Linked DNA regions of Homo sapiens: regions 2 and 3 are each linked to region 1. The links are contacts of gene promoters, found by promoter capture Hi-C in human tissues and cell types (Jung and others, 2019). All regions are on one chromosome and are shown on one strand. Each heading gives the region's core, a stretch centred on a gene start or on the middle of the fragment in contact. The rest is flanking DNA. Distances are from core to core; before and after follow the strand shown. Region 1 holds the start of GUCY1A2 (guanylate cyclase 1 soluble subunit alpha 2). Region 2 overlaps LOC105369474 (a long non-coding RNA gene). Region 3 has its middle 340 kb from the start of LINC02719.

Region 1 (3,625 bases), core at 662-3,161:
TAATGTAATTTTCATTATAATTTAGAAAAAGGGGCTAGTGAAACTTTTTTAGCAAAACTGATGATTTTTTATGATTAAAAGTGTAATTTGAGTCTAATTTTCAATGGACACAAATGCACATAGAATTAATTGAAGTAATGGGGAAATCAATAGTAGATGCACAACAGTTTAAATAATAATTGTAACAATTATTATTTTAAAAGAAACTTCCTCAGGATGAGAAAGAATACATATATATAAGAATATATATTATATATATTCTTTCTCATATGTATATGTATATACATATACATATATATACACACACATATATATATATATATATATATATATATAATTTGAAGGGGGAGTGTCTGAGTGATAGTACACACTTTTCTATCTTTAAAGCCCATTTAAGATCTGGGGAAAAAGGTATGTCTCTGAACCAGTTTGAGTGGATTTTTCCAAATGAAACCTCAAATAGCATTTATATTTAAGCCCTAACAAACACTTGGGAAGATTTGAAGTTAAAAGCAAATTGTGGTGGGGGTACAGCACAGGTTTTGTGGTTTGGTTTTGTTTTGCTTTTTAAATAAACACAGTCCACAAAAACCCATCTGCCTTCACCTGGAAGGACCAGTTCTTTAATTAAAAAAACGCTTTGGCTTCGGTTTCACTGGGAAACTAAAGCCAGAGCCCCTAAACTTTTCTCTCCGCAGATCGGGTGAGCTGGGGAGGGTGCTCATCCACTTCATTGCAGGGGGAAGTACAGCCTGGAACCCCTTTCGGGATACTGTCATTTGCCCCTTCTTCCCATCTCTTACTCTATCCTCAGAACCAGTATGAGAGTTTTCTGGGGCTAAGGCAAGGGGCAGTGGGGTCAGGCGCTGGAAGGACTGGTTTGCAAAGAGATAAGCTTTGGAATGAAGCCGCACAGCTGAAAACTCGCGGCAAGACATGCTCGCGCTGTGGCGAGTCAGTTCGAGAAGCATTTATCCCTACTCCCCTTAGCTTTCTGAGCAGCATTTGCAGTCAGGTGCAAACAGATCGCATATTTGGCGCAAAGAGCCCTGAGGATGAGGGACGTGGGATCATTCCCCGGTTTCCCCCGGGCCAGGTGCTAGGTCGTTTGAGGAGGAACTGTTCTCCAGTTCTCAACGCCTGCAAAGGCGGCTATAGGTGGCAAGCGGAGCTGTCCAGCACTAGTGAGGAGCCAGCGGAGCCGGGAGCCCCGCGCACCCCGCCCGGCTGAGGCTCAGCAACAGTGCTGTCTTGTCAGAGCAGACGCTGTCCTCACTGCCGCCCCTTTCTGGGCTCGCTCCGCGCCCACACGGCCTCGCACGAGGCGGGGAACACAAGTCCCCAGGAGCTGCTCCAGCAGGATGGGCGCCAAAATGTTGCCCCTGTCCTTCCCTTCCCCTGAAAGCGTCTCCTCTGGAGTGGGCTGGCTGGACGCTTGGCCTTTCCCTTTTGCCTCGGAACTTCCTAAATAAACTCGGAGAAAGGACAACATGGACCCTAACCCCCACTTCACACTGTCAGGTTTCCCCAAGGTGGCTCCAGGGGGAGGCCTCTCGCCCCCCAGCCCCGAGCCCTTCTCCCCACCAGCGCCGCCGGGACCCATCTGCTCCCGAGGGCCGAGGATAAGGCGTTTGGGGTTGGGGCCCTCAGTCCGACCCGAGCTCCTGTGCGCACCTCCTCGGAGCAGGGAGGGCGCGCAGAGGACAGCAACGAAGTGTCCTCGTTGCTCCTGAAACGTGGCGACAGGCGAGGCAGAGACTCCCAATGAGTATGATGGCGACACGTGATTCCCGCGGAGGGAGAGCATGGGGGGGGGCGGGGGGATAAAGGGAGAAGGAGGGAGGCAGGGCAGCAAGTGGAGAGAGGCGGGAGCAGAGAGGGAAAGGGGGCGAGATAGGCGCGCAGGCGGCAGAAGCCTCTGCCTCTGCCTCCCCTTCTGCTTGGGCCGCAGCCCTCCCCGCCCCGCCGACCGCGGTCACACACTCTCGGAGCCTCCCCGTGAGCGGGAGCGCGGCGCACGGCGATGCGCCGAGGCGGGCGCTGAGGCGGCGCCGCGCGAGCAGCAGCAGAGGCGGCGGCGGCCCCCAGCCCAGCCCGGCGCCGCCGCCGAGCCCGGGCCCCAAGGTGCGGCGGCGCCCCAAGTTCCCGCCATGAGCAGCCGGCTCGGGGGGCTCCGCGGCCCCGGGGACTCCCGCCCCGCCGGGCGCGACCGCAGCGCCCCGCGGCCCCGACGCGCTTAACGTTGTCGCTTGCCGGTCCCGCCACCGCCGCCTCCGCCGCCGCTCGCGTCCTCGCCGCCACCGCCTCGGCCGCTGCAGCTCCGCCGGCAGCATGTCTCGAAGGAAGATTTCGTCCGAGTCCTTCAGCTCCCTGGGCTCCGACTACCTGGAGACCAGCCCGGAGGAGGAGGGGGAGTGCCCCCTGTCTAGGCTCTGCTGGAATGGCAGCCGGAGCCCGCCCGGGCCGCTGGAGCCCAGCCCGGCCGCAGCTGCCGCTGCCGCCGCCCCGGCCCCGACCCCGGCTGCTTCTGCCGCCGCCGCCGCTGCCACTGCCGGGGCCAGGAGGGTGCAGCGCCGGAGGCGGGTCAACCTGGACTCGCTGGGCGAGAGCATCAGCCGCCTGACGGCGCCCTCGGTGAGCGGGGGGCGGAAGGGGGGACCGCCTTCGGGGGAGAGAACGCGGATCTGTAAAGTTGGCGCTGGGCGAGCCGGGGCGCGAGCGCAGAGCCCGACCGCTGGGGGGCGGCCCGGCCTTACCCTGCACGGCCTAGGGTTCCAGTGGCTCCGGCGACAGAGGATCCCCTAGGCTAGGGCGGAAGAGGGGACTACAGCACTGGGAAGGAATAAGATTCCACTCCTTTGGGGTATCCTGATTCGGGGGCCTGTCTGCCCACCTCTAGCCTTGAACCCTACTTCACCACTGTTCCCCCTGGACAGCCCCAGTGCTGCTTCACACCCACCTGTTTTCTTTCCCCTAAACTTTCCCAGGCACTGTGTTCTGCAGTTCAGCTTCCCTGTCTTTCATCCTGTTCTCCAGCATCCCAAAGGAGCCCCAACCCCTTCCAGGAAACCCTTCCTCTCCTTATTTCCCACACTCTCTTGGTCTTAGCGTGACCTTCTCTGACATCTTTGAATTCCACAGGCTATCTGCATTCTATGTTGCATCCTTTTTCTCACATCTTCAGATACTTTTTGCCAGATACTTTTCTGAGTTGCCTTCTGTTCAAGTAATCTCTAATCTCGAGTTGTCCTCACCCCGTAGCTTTTTTTCTTTTTCTTTCTTATCCACTAGGCATTTATTCTTCTCTGGGTAAACCTGGTGTCTGGATTTCTTTTTTTTTAAATTAAATTTAATTTAAAGTCCCGGGTTACATGTGCAGGATGTGCAGATTTGTTACATAGGTACCAAACGTGTGCCATGGTGGTTTGCTGCACCTACTAACTCATCACCTAGGTATTAAGCTTCGCATGCATTAGCTATTTAAACCGCTCTGTACTTCTTGCACCTGTACCTCATCCTTTACTCTCTCCTCAATGGATTCTCTAGTGCTTTCTCTCTCACATTAGCTATTTAAACCTCTCTGTACTTCTTGCACCTGTACCTCATCCTTTACTCTCTCCTCAAT
Region 2 (3,625 bases), core at 382-2,881, 630 kb after region 1:
AAGGCCAAATGTGGGCTTTTCTCTTACTGTGACACAAGAAGTTCCACGTGGCTCCAAGCAATAAAGGTTTAAAACACTCCAATTCCAATATGAAAGGAAATAATCTTCAGACAGCAGCTTAAAGAACTCATGGTGCGGTGGCTCACGCCTGTAATCCCAGAACTTTGGGAGGCCGAGGCGGGCGGATCACGAGGTCAGGAGATTGAGACCATCCTGGCTAACATGGTGAAAACCCGTCTCCACTAAAAATACAAAAAAAAAAAATTAGCCGGGCATGGTGGCAGGCACCTGTAGTCCCATCTACTCAGGAGGCTGAGGCAGGAGAATGGTGTGAACCCGGGAGGCGGAGCTTGCAGTGAGCCAAAATCGCGCCACTGCATTCCAGCCTGGGCAACAGAGCAAGACTCCGTCTCAAAAAATAAATAAATAAATAAATAAAATAAAGAAGCACAAGGATATATTCTAGAATATCAAATATGGAAACCAATGATGTAAAAGCCTGGAAATTCTATCTCAAATAATCTAAAATGGATATAGATATTGCAAAGCAGGGTCACTGGTTACCAACTTGTCTGATTCTGATGAGATAGAACACCTAACACAAATTACATAAAGCAAATTTATTACTTACAGATAGACAAGGGAAAATAGAAGCCTAGAATCCATTGCATGCTAGACCCCCAAGGCTCAGAAAAGCTGCCCAGAGCAAATGAAGTCTTGATGACATATGCCCCACTTGTATCACAGCTGATATCACTTGTATCACACCAGAAAGGGGTCTGCTTTGGGTTTAATAGCCTCTGATCATGTGAATAGCTGGGATAGTGCATTGAGAGATATCTTCTTTCTAAGGTTGGACTGAACAGTTCTAGCCAGCCCTCCCTGTCTCAGGAGGTTACATTCCCAGCATATTCTATAGTTATTTTTGAGAAGCACAAATAATAATAAGAAAAGCCCTGAACTGAACTGTAGGTAGTATAGCAGAAATGGAGAAACAGCATGAATCTAAGTACAAAAGCCTTGACTAGATGGTTCAGGGGCTTGTAAACCATTCTTAACGAATTTTTAAATTTACTTTAGGAGCCTTAGGGAGCCTTTGCAAAGTTTTAAGTAATGGGAAGACATAATTAGATTTACATTTAAGAAAGATTATGCTGTATGCCTTGTGGAGAATAGATTTGATTCACAGAAATCTCTGGAAACCAAGCATGTTTGAATAAACTGCACATAAATCCTACGTGAGTTGGCAAAAGACAGATTTTATCTCAGTCTTCAGAGATGGAGCCGAAGATTGAAGACTAAACCAGGAACTGGGCACAAATACAAGAGGACCACATTTCTGTGTTGCACAATTTGGTCATTTGTGGATGGATGGTGTTTTTTGGGTCACAGGCAGGAATACTCCCTGTGTCTCTGCAGAAACAATAAGAAGTGAAGCTCTGCTACAATGGGTTAAAAAGGGAATGGGAGGTAAAGAAGTGAAGACTGTCAATTTAAACAGCTCTTTCAACAAGGGAGCATTCAACAGAATGAGTTGAGAGGGAGAAGCCTATAAAGAGAAAAGCAGCAGTCTTCTAGTTGCCAGACCCCAGCTTCTCTTTTTTCAGTTTCAAATGAATGAGAAGATTAGCAAGAGGATCCTGAAAAGGTTTACCATTTAGGTTTAAAGAGAATCCTGAGATTCAAAAGGGCATCGTGGTAAGAATTGGTAGGGGAATCAGATTAGGATGGGAGAGAAAGAAACAATATCAGAAGGATTTAAATTTTATAGGGGTGACCAAAGATTGAGCAGCATAGACAGGAATAGCTGCCCTAAAGTACGTGAGTGGAAATCAATCAGGTGATAAGATGTATTAGAGGGGCTGTGCTTCAGCATATTGTCGTGACAAGATGATAAAAGAGCATTGCTTAAATCTCAGTGTGTCACAGCTAGCTAGCTACTGCGGAGTCATGAAGAAGAAAGAAGGGAGACACAATATTTAATACTGGGGGAGATTATTTGCACAGCTCAGGCACTTAAATGTTTCTCAGGAGTTTTAAGTGATGCTCTTATTTCTCAAGATAAACATTTCCAAAAGAAACAGAAACATTAAAAAAAAATCAAGAAATGAGAAAGTGAAACTTTGGGCCAAAACCAATCTGCAAAGATTTCAAAAATCTAGTGTCATGCACCCCAAAATCTACTTTTAGTCTAACTGAGGTATACATTAATAACAAGAAAAAATATTTTCAAACTTCATAATTTGGAAATTCCAAACACAACCGAATGACTCAAAGGCCAAGAGAAAAATCACAAAAGAAATTATAAAATACTTAGAACTGAAAGATAATAAAAAGCTTTATATCAAAACTTTTGAACTGTAGCTAAATCAACATTAAAGGAAATCTGTAACCTTTATATGTTTTTATTAGAATAGGAGGAAACGTGAATGTCAGTAAATAAGCATACAACTTGAGAAGTTAGAAAAATGTCAACCAAAAAATAGAAAAAAATAAAATAAAGATGAGAAGGGCAATAATTAATGGGAAAAGAGGAACTATGGCAAAATAAAGAGGATCAAGAAAAGCAAAGCTTATGTGTTGAAAACATTAATAAAACTGACAAACCTTAGGCAAAACAGATTATGAAAGAGAAAGGGGAAAAGAGACAGAAATGGCATATATAAACAATACTAAAAATTTTAAGAGTATAATAGAGATTTTAAAAAATAAGTTAATACTATGTCTCTATGCCATTAATTTGAGAACACGTAAAATGGACATATTCTTAGAAAAATACAAATTTCCAAAACTGACTCAATATTAAATAGAAAAACACAAATTGTTATAACATTAAAGAAAATAAGTCATTTAAAAACTACCCAAAAGGATTTACCACTGAGTTGTACCAAATTTTAAAGAAAAAAAAATCCCACTTACACAAATCTTTTCTGAGATAAGAAAAGGGAAATATTCTACTGCACATTTTATGATACGGGTGTAACTTAATACCAAAATTAGCTACAGGCAAAATGGAAACAGAAAAGTATAGACCACTCACTCATGTACATAAATGCAAGAGTTCTAACAAAATATTAGCAAGCTAAATTTAGAACTATATAAAAAATGATGCGTCATGATTAATTTGAGCTCATCATAGGAATGCAAGATTGATTCTACACTAGAAAGTATATTAATTAATTTAACTACATTGACAGATTAAAGAGGACAATCCTATGTACCTAGATGGCACATCTCCTAAGTGAATAGTGCAATTTCTGCACCGCTTTTTAAAATAAAGTTGCTTGCCTTGGACTTCCTCACTCTTTTGCCCTTCCCTGGTCCAGAATGTGGACATGGTGGTAATCCAGAGAAAGGCAAAGCAATCAGAAAGCCAGCACGTAAGTTCAGGGAAAATGGAAGATTGGATGTTTGGGAGACATTTCAAGATTTATCCACTTGGTTCTCAACTTCCACCTTGTTTTACAGATGAAGAGAATGGGTGAAGAAGAATTAGTAAAAAATTTTATTTGCTATAGTCAAATATCCATTCTATGTATTTCAGGTATAGCCCAGAAACATGGGGTGAGGTGGGGTGGGTAGAGAATATCTGTGACAGCCAAGTGGACGTAACAATACTCCCCTT
Region 3 (3,625 bases), core at 462-2,961, 550 kb after region 1:
ATTACATTCCACATATTTATGCTCTTTGTGTCTTTTCATTGATTTTTCTTTGTTTCAGAACATTTGTTTCATTTTCTAATTTAATGTTGATTAGAGATTAAAGCAATGTGAAAATGTATCATTTCTACTCTGCCAGAAACTAAAGTCTGAATATTTCCTGATTTTTTTCCCCTTAGTGTGAATCATTTATCAGTTTCTCTTAAAGGGCATGTAGTAACTATTTAGATAAAATTCAGTGTGAAACATTTAGAGATTTAGGAAACTCTAGAAGTCTTATCTTCTATACTTAGTTCCTCTTAACATTACAGACTATCAAATAGAAATATCATCGTTAACTTCCATTTCTTTTTGCTTATTTTTTCAATTCATAGGTTTTAAATATTTATATTGATAAAGAATACTAATGCTCTAAAATACTGAGAAAAATACTAAAACATTGGCTGATTACAGCAAGCTTCCTCTGCTACTTAAGTCTCATATCAATAACCAGTTCTAATGAAATTTATTTCAGGCATGTCACAGCACAATAAAAAAAAATTCCATTATTATGCAGTAGCTATGATTATCTGGCTAGAACTTAGTTTGACAGAACGGTTAGCTGGTCAAAAAGAAATGTTTTTGCTCATAATAGTTTTTACTGATTTTCAAAATCTTGACTTCTCTGCCTGCCTTCCTTTCTCCCTACCATTCGTATTTCCTTCAGACCTTTTTTGAATCTCATATATTTACTGGCTAACTGACTTTCTAGATATAAGTTGTGTAGAAAAGAACTCGTTTCCAATGAAAAAACATCCATTTAGTTTGTAAAGAGGCTAACTTAACTCTCAGTTCTCCAAGAGCTCACTCTTCTGAAACTTCCACTCCAGTCAGGGACAAACACCATGCAGCCCCAATGAAACAGCCCACTATGTAGGAACAGACTTAAGCATAATGAATGGAGGCTGGAAAGGGCTGGGAGCAGCTGGACTTTTCATTCTTTTCCTGAGTCTTCCTCTGTTGACAGTGTTCTGACAAATCCCTAGGATGCCACTGGGTTCCCAGGAAAAAAAAAAAAAGCAGAAAAAGAAACTTTTAAATTAGTCCTTTAGTTGGTTTAGTGCACATTAACCACTTGATGATAGTATAAATAGTTGTGAATGAGCAGTGTGTAAGACCGCTGAGCTAGAAGATTTCATATTTTCAGGCAGCCACAAAATAAGTTCTACCAAACAATTAACCCAAAGCTAAATGCGGCAAGAGAAAAATATTTCTAGATGAACGCATTGACTATTCTTTAACTTTCACCCATAGTTAACAGCATTTCATATCACCTCTGCAAACACATCAGAGAAATAATTCTAGTTCGGGAGTCAGAGCCAGCTATTTTTGTAGCTGGAACACCATTTATGCCTCCTTCACAGCATTTATCAACATTGCATTCACATGATTGTTTGGTGACTCACTGCCTCTCCAGACCCTAAGATCTTCAACAAACAGGACCATATTTTGTTATACTGACTGCCTTATCTCCAGTTTTGAGCATAAGCAGGCCAGAAATAAATATTTTTGAATGAGTGAATAGAAGTGTTAATGAAAAGAGTCAAACTCTGTAAAATACTGGAAGAGATTTATTTTGAGCCAACAATGAGTGACCATGCCCCATGGCACAGCCCTCAGAAGGTCCTGAGAACATGTGCCCAAGGTGGTTGGGGTACAGCTTGGTTTTATGCAGTTTAGAGAGATATAAAACTTCAATTAAATACATTTAAGAAATACGTTGGTTTGGTCCAGAAAGGTGGGACAACTTGAAGTGGGGGCTTCCAGCTTATAGACAGATTTACAATTTTTCTAGTTGACAATTGGTTGAGTTTATCTAAAGACCTGGAATTAATAGAAAGGAATGCCTGGGTTAAGATAAAGGATTGTGGAGACCAAAGTTCTTATTTGCAGAGGAAGCCTTCAGGTAGTAGGCTTCAGAGAAAATAGGCTGTAAAAAGTTTCTTATCAGACCTAAAGTATGTGTTGATGTTAATGATGGAGAGGTATAATGAGGCATACCTGATCCCCACTTCCCATCATGGCCTGAACCAGTCCTTCATGTTAAGTTTTAAGAGTGCCCTGGCTGAGGAGGAAGTCCATTCAGGTGGTTGAGGTGGGTGTAGAATTTTATTTTTGGTTTACAGATTAAATAAGTGAGTAAAATATGATTGAGAGGTCAGTCCAAGTCTTAACAATATCCATAGAAAATATGGAATACATGGCAGTTGTTTATCACACAAATAGGAGGGAAGATACACACCAAAAAAATCTATCATCTTCATGCTCATTTGTAATGTGTTGGCAAATATATTAACTTTTATCAAATGTCTTATCCTTAATCAAAACAAATATGTGTTCTCAAAAGCTTCTTTTTCTGTATGTTTGTGTTTTAATACTTAACAGAGGTGCATTAAAAAACCTTAATTATACACAATTTTCTAATTCTGTGTTAATTTATTCAGACATTTCAACATGAGAGCACCTGGATGAATTTTTAAATGAGGGTCCTTGCTTTTCTTCTTCCCTGCCTCCCCCCACCCCGCATAATATCATTGAACTCATCTTTTGTTAATTGCAAACAGTCTCCAATCTATATTGATCCTGGGTTCGTATGTTTACTCAGAAAATAGAAAAACGTGCTCCCACACTGCTGATTGCAATACAAATTAAGCACCAGCTGGGTTTGTGAGTCACTGGTTAAGGATTACTGCAGCCTTATAGCACAGCGTAATTCCAGTGGTGAGATCAATCACGTAAAATAAACACTAAGCATGAGCAGAAGAGTTTTTTTCTGAGGGGTTTCAGAAGTGAGGAAGAAAAGTTGTGAACAAAAATAGAATTGAAGGAGGCCATCTTTAGCTGACCATCACTGCTGTTTTAACTTTCTTGCTTATGAAAGGCTGTTTCTTTTCAAGAGTAATAGAGACACACTCGGTGTGTTAGTGCCATTTGTCTAACTCATGGCAGCCTGTGAGGAACTCAAAAGGGAACATCTGAAGACAAAGCAGCTGACTGGAAGTCTTAGCTCTGCTACTTCCTTGCTCATTTCATGACTCGGAATAACTACTAAGTGCCTTTGAGTCTTATTTAGCCCATTCACCTGTCAGAGCCCAGACCCTGCAACTAGCTGGGTGACCTTGAGTAAATTACTCTCTGTGGCTAAATTAATCATCTGTGACTGTTTCCATACACATAAAATGGGAATACTTAGGCTACCTACCTCAGAATGCTGTTGTGAAAATTAAACAGCATTTCTACAGTACTTGGAACAGAGGCTGGCATGCAATAAACATTCCACACATCACTGTGACTATCATTTCTATAATATTGTTTTTCATGAACAGTTGTATATTCTGCTTGTGCATTGCTTTAAAGTACACCAAAACCTGATGATTGAATTATACAGGCAAAGTTTGGGGCCACAGGTATTTCATCTTCCCCCTCAGCCTTGCTTCATCTACCCTAAGCCTTTTTGAAATATCTTCAGAACCCTGGACCACTGCATTCATTTGCTAGGGCTGACGTAAAAGTACCACAGACTGGGTGACTTAAACACCAGAAATTTATTTTCTTACAGTTCTGGAAGCTAGAAGTCCAAGATCAAGGT

Evidence for each region. Contacts are between HindIII fragments. The study calls those that stand out against the background at their distance.
Region 2: a contact is called between a fragment that was not itself captured here and the fragment with the promoter of GUCY1A2 in region 1, in 1 of the 25 tissues and cell types used here (hippocampus).
Region 3: a fragment that was not itself captured here is called in contact with the fragment with the promoter of GUCY1A2 in region 1 in 2 of the 25 tissues and cell types used here (H1 embryonic stem cells and dorsolateral prefrontal cortex).

Annotation. Positions count from the first base shown.
Region 1 is chr11:107,016,762-107,020,386 of GRCh38, reverse strand. GUCY1A2 (guanylate cyclase 1 soluble subunit alpha 2) reads left to right here and starts at 1,911. Exons shown (of 8, transcript NM_000855.3): 1 at 1,911-2,634. The coding sequence starts at 2,332. RefSeq lists a silencer at 2,388-2,517. The HindIII fragment of the contact is 5,267 bases long and covers 43-3,625 here.
Region 2 is chr11:106,382,273-106,385,897 of GRCh38, reverse strand. The region is part of intron 2 of LOC105369474 (a long non-coding RNA gene); the gene reads right to left. Among named protein-coding and RNA genes, the nearest start is that of LINC02719, 250 kb to the right of the region's middle. The HindIII fragment of the contact is 6,435 bases long and covers 1-3,625 here.
Region 3 is chr11:106,466,088-106,469,712 of GRCh38, reverse strand. No RefSeq gene overlaps it. Among named protein-coding and RNA genes, the nearest start is that of LINC02719, 340 kb to the right of the region's middle. The HindIII fragment of the contact is 3,583 bases long and covers 1-3,502 here.